Regions from separate parts of the Homo sapiens genome. Here region 2 is linked to region 1. Evidence: promoter capture Hi-C in human tissues and cell types (Jung and others, 2019). All regions are on one chromosome and are shown on one strand. The core of a region is centred on a gene start or on the middle of the fragment in contact, and the rest is flanking DNA. Distances in the headings are between cores, read along the strand shown. Region 1 holds the start of PLA2G4C (phospholipase A2 group IVC). Region 2 overlaps ELSPBP1 (epididymal sperm binding protein 1).

Evidence for each region. Contacts are between HindIII fragments. The study calls those that stand out against the background at their distance.
Region 2: a contact is called between a fragment that was not itself captured here and the fragment with the promoter of PLA2G4C in region 1, in 6 of the 25 tissues and cell types used here (H1 embryonic stem cells, liver, lymphoblastoid cells and 3 more).

The regions. Positions count from the first base shown.
Region 1 is chr19:48,109,527-48,112,226 of GRCh38, forward strand. It overlaps PLA2G4C (phospholipase A2 group IVC), which reads right to left and starts at 1,291. Exons shown (of 17, transcript NM_003706.3): 1 at 961-1,291. RefSeq lists an enhancer at 1,107-1,266. The HindIII fragment of the contact is 42,556 bases long and covers 1-2,700 here.
Region 2 is chr19:48,007,622-48,010,482 of GRCh38, forward strand. It overlaps ELSPBP1 (epididymal sperm binding protein 1), which reads left to right. Exons shown (of 7, transcript NM_022142.5): 2 at 1,030-1,116. The coding sequence starts at 1,047. Among named protein-coding and RNA genes, the nearest start is that of ELSPBP1, 14 kb to the left of the region's middle. The HindIII fragment of the contact is 4,775 bases long and covers 1-2,861 here.

The sequences.
Region 1 (2,700 bases), core at 41-2,540:
TTCCCAAAACGCTGGGATTATAGGCATGAGTCATCGCACTCGGCCAGACATAGGCTCTTAAAGGGGTGACTAAGTTAAAGTGGGGTCCTGAGGGTGGCCTGGAATTTGGTTTGATTGGTTTATTTTATTTTATTTTTTTTTGAGATGGAGTCTCGCTTTGTGCCCTAGGCTGGAGTGCAGTGGCGCAGTCTCGGCTCACTGCAAGCTCCGCCTTCCGGGCTCACGCCATTCTCCTGCCTCAGCCTCCGGAGTAGCTGGGACTACAGGCGCCCGCCACCACGCCCAGCTAATTTTTTGTATTTTTAGTTGAGACGGGGTTTCACTGTGTTAGCCAGGATGATCTCGATCTCCTGACCTCAGGATCCGCCCGCCTCGTCTTCCCAAAGGGCTGGGATTACAGGCGTGAGCCACCGCGCCCAGCCTGATTGGTTTTATAAGGAGAGATTAGGGCCTCTGCAAGAGGCTTCAGGAGAAACCAACCCTGCCAACACCTTGATCTTGGACTTCTAGCTTCCAGAAGTGTTAGAAAATAAATTCCTAGCCGGGCGCGGTGGCTCACGCCTGTAATCCCAGCACTTTGGAAGGCCGAGTGGGGTGGATCACGAGTTCAGGAGTTTGAGACCAGCCTGGCCAACATGGTGAAACCCCATCTCTACTAAAAATACAAAAATTAGCCGGGTGTGGTGGTGTGCGCCTGTAATCCCAGCTACTCGGGAGGTTGAGGCAGGAGAATCGCTTGAACCCCGGAGGCGGAGCTTGCCGTGAGCCGAGATCGCGTCACTGCACTCCAGCCTAGGCGACAGAGCGAGATGCTGTCTCAAAAAAAAATAAATAAATAAATAAAATAAAATAAAATAAAAAAGAAAAAGAAATCCTGTTATTTAATTGCACCCAATCCCTGGTACTTGGTTATGGCCGCCCCAGCGGGATGAAACAGCCCTCCCTGCCCCCACGGCTTGCCTGAGCCTGGGTCTGGGGCGTGTGCGCATGCGCGGTGGAGCTTGTGCTCCGGAATCCGGTGCGGAGGCTTGGGCTCCCTGCGCTTAGCGGTGTAGTCGCTGGACAGCTCCTTCAGCCGGAATCTCCGCGGGTGAAGACTGCGGGGATCCTCGGTGCCAAAGCTTCTGTGGTCCTCCTGCTTTCCTTTTCCCCCTGTGGGAGGAGGTCGCGGGCTGGAGGTGTTTCCTCCTGGTCCTGAGCAGGGCCAACCTGGAGGTAAAATGGCCCCTGCGCCTTTAAACAGCCCTCCTCGGCTTGTAGGCCCTGCTTGGTTGCTCCAGCTTTTTCAGCTGTTCCAGAGCTCACCCGGAGCTATTTTCATCCGTGGGATCACGTGGAGGGCTGGGACTTTCCAGGCTTCCTTAGTGATGTCACCCTTCTGTCATTAGGCACCCGAGACCAGTATTCAAAAAAAGAATGTTGTCGTTATATAACTATATTGGAGATAAGTATTCCTCAAAACAGATTAGCTAATCCTCCTATGCATCTGGCTGTCTAATAACCATCATATATAATATCATACTCAAATACCCAGAAAAAGAAATATTGAGGCCAGGCGTGGTGGCTTACGCCTGTAATCCTAGCACTTTGGGAGGCTGAGGCAGGCGGATCATGTGAAGTCAGGAGTTCGAGACCAGCCTGGCCAACATGGTGAAACACCTTCTCTACTAAAAATACAAAAATTAGCTCGGTATGGTGGCGTGTGCCTGTAATCCCAGCTACTACTCGGGAGGCTGAGGCAGGTGCTTCATCCTGGGAGGTGGAGGTTGCAGTGAGCCAGATCCTTAGGGCCAACTCTGGTTCATTTAATGTCCATTTTTAGAAAACCTGTGAGCTCCATTCACAGTGAAGGTTTGAAGCCCAGAAGTGGCCTCCCAACAGGGTACCACATTTCCCAGCACCTTTGCAGCTAGGTGTGGTCATGTGAGCGAGTTATGTGGTCATGTGACCGAGTTCCAGTCAGTGCAATCGGGCATCTGTGGGGAGCACCGCTTCCAAGAGTGGCTCCTAGAAACCTCCCATACTACCCTCCTGCCTACTCTTCCTGAAGCCCAGCACTAAGCGTCATCCCAACTCGATGGGTTTTGAATTTTTTTTTTTTTTTTTTGAGATGGAGTCTTACTCTTTGTCGCCCAGGCTGGTGTGCAGTGGTGCAATCTCGGCTCACTGCAACCTCCGTCTCCTGGGTTCAAGCGATTCTCCTACCTCAGCCTCCCGAGTAGCTGGGAACATAGGCATCTGCCACCACGCCCGGCTAATTATTTTTGTATTTTTAGTAGAGACAGGGTTTCACCATGTTGGCCAGGCTGGCTCGAACTGCTGAACTCAAGTGATCCACCTGCCTCGGCTTCCCAAAGTGCTGGGATTACAGTTGCGAGCCACCGCACCCAGCTTGAATTCTTATTTTTTAAAAATAGATATGAGGCCATAATCCTAGCACTTTGGGAGGCCAAGGCAGGAGTATCACCAATTTTAGAACAGGATTTCACCAGGGGGAAGATGGTCTCCCCTGCTCCCCCTAACGCCAGGCTCACCTCTTCAGTGCCCGCAACTCCAACCATCGCAGGATCTTTTCACTCCTAGACCTGACCATGCCACTGCCCCGCCTGCGGGATAAGGTTCTACACCTCGCAGGAGCTCATGAGGCTCTCCACAGTATAGTTAGTAGTTATAGATGCAGGGTCAAGGAGCTGACAGCAT
Region 2 (2,861 bases), core at 158-2,657, 100 kb before region 1:
AGCTAGTAATAACTATGGTTAATGAGGACGGTAAATGCTAATCACTGAAGGACTTTCGTCTCCAGCTAAGGAGATGAGTGTGATTCATGGGGAGGATTTAAGGCTATTGTTAAGGTTCCAACAATGAGAAGGGCCCTTGCAGCCATTAATATGGGTTAGAACCCAGACCCTGCCCTTTCCTCCCTGGGTGACCAATCCAGGTCTGAGTGTTAGTTTCTGCATCTATAAAATGGGGGTTAAAACATGTATTACTTGATTTATGAAAGCCAAGTGACATAAAGTGTGTTGAACATCGAGCCTGGAGTACAGTAAGTGTTCAACAAGTGTTTCATTTTTTTCTTTCCATCACACTTTCCTAAGGACAGTACATGACAGTAGAGTTATGCATCAGGAATACAGTCTGAGAAGTGCATTGTTAGGCAATGTCGTCCTTGTGTGAGCATCATAGAGTGTACTCACACGAACCTAGATGGTAGTGCCTGCTACACACCTGGGCTATATGATACAGCCTGTGCTTCCAGGCTACAAACCTGTACATACACACATGTAGAAACACACACACATATCACACACACATATGTAGAAACATATGTGTGTGTGTGGTATATGTGTGTGTATGTGTGTATTTAGAGATAGGGTCTCACTCTGTTACTGAGGCTATAGTACAGTGGCACAATCATAGCTCACTGCAGCCTTGACCTCCTGGGCTCAAGTGATCCTCTTGCCTCAGCCTCCTGAATAGCTGGGACCACAGGCATACACCACCATGCCTGGCTAATTTAAATGAAAATTTTGTAGAGGTGGGGTCTCACTATGTTGTCCAGGCTGGTCTTGAACTTCTGGCTTTAAGCGATCCTTTGTCTTGGTCTCCCAAAATGCTGGGATTACAGGTGTGAGCTACCATGCCTGGTCTATTTTTTAAATTACTGTGGATGGAAAGAAAAATGGCATGTATGACGTCAAATCTAGGAGGTAATGGGAAGAGGAAGGGGACGTGTGGGATGAAAATTTTTGTCTTCTTTTCCACAGAGAAGAGGGCAGCCAAGATGACCCGATGGTCCAGTTACCTGTTGGGATGGACAACCTTCCTTCTCTATTCCTATGAGTCAAGTGGAGGTAAGGACACTCAAAGCAACAGGGAGGATTTAGAAGCTGGAGAAGAATGAATGGGGCAAAGCAAAGATTCCTGGAACTAAGTAGGCAGGAGATGGCTTAGCAAAAATCTCAGAAGAAGCTGGGCGCGGTGGCTGACACCTGTAATCCCAGCACTTTGCAGGGCTGAGGCAGGCAGATCACTTGAGGTCAGGAGTTCCAGAGCAGCCTGCCCAACATGGTGAAACCCCATCTCTACTAAAAATACAAAAATTAGCCAGGCATGGTGGTGAGCGCCTGTAATCCCAGCTACTTGGGAGGCTGAGGCAGGAGAATCGCTTGAACCCAGGAGGTGGAGGTTGCAGTGAGCCGAGATCGTACCACTGAACTCCAGACTGGGAGACAAGAGCAAAACTCCCTCTCAAAAAAAAAAAAAAAAAATCTCAGAAGACCTGGGGTTTGGACCCTGGATCTGCCACTTCTTTTCTTGGTAACTTTGGTCAAGCAACATAAGCTCTCTGAAGTCAATTTCCAGACTGTAAAAGAGAAGTAACGGCATTTATCTCACGGGGTTATTTTGAAGATCAAATAAAATAATGGGCACCAGCATCTTTCATAATGCTCAGCACATGGTGGGGGTAAAAGGCAGGCTATATAATTCCAGTGAACAGAACCTTCAGACCCCAACCTGGACAACCTAATTATATCTTAATATATCTCAGAATCTAAATTAACCACTAAAAGACTGTAAGGTAAGCATGGAAACAGAACAAGAGGAAACCTTGCTTACATGTCATTCACTCAAGCCTTGGTGAGTCATTCTTCACAATTAGAATCCTTTTCTGCCTGATAAATCGTTCTCCTCTGGATAAGGCTCAGGAACCATTTGCATATTGATGCACCTTGATCCCACATTCTTTATTCCAGAGATTCCTAACCTGGGGTCATTGAGTGAGGATTAGAGTCCATGAAAACTGGAATTTACGTTTTAAAAAAAGTGTGTATTTATGAGGGTAGTGAGAATAGCTATTGTAACAAACAAAATCCAAACTATCAGCTGCTTGACACAATAACATTTTTTTTTTCTTGGTTCTGCAAAATCCCAGAAGGGTGCATCTGGTCAGGAAACAATGCTCCACATGGTCATTCAGGGATCCAAGCTTCTTACATCCTGGAGCCCCAACATCCCCTACGGTTTCAGAGTCTGCTGAGGTTTCTTTGCTTTTAGCTTGTAGACAAGTATCAAGAGAGTCTGGAGGACCTTGGAGGAGAGGGTTTTTTGTTTGTTTGTTTTCTTTTGGCCAGGACAGGAAGTGACATTCATCCCTTTCTCCTGCTTCCACTGGCCAAAACTGATATGGCTCTTAACTGCAAGCAAGTCTGGGAGATGCAGTGTAGCAGTGCATTTGGGAGGAAAGTGAAACTGATTTCGGTGAACACACAGCCATCTCAACCATAAGGGCATATGAATATTCTCCTAGAGAGAAGTTCTGGGTTCTCAAAGAACTGACAAATTCCTGAAAGTTTAGGAACTCACAGTTTATTCAGACAAGGAACAATGTACTTGATGGGGTATCCACTTTTCTAGTTATAATCTCATTTTTGTCATGCCTCCCTGAGACCACACCCACATACTTGTGGTGAAACTCAGTATTCCAAGTTCCCTTTGCGTGTATTTACAGATAAATTATTCAGTATACACTTACTGAGTGATCTTTAAGTTCCAGACATTGTGTTATGGACCAGAAGTGCAGAAATAAACAAAACCT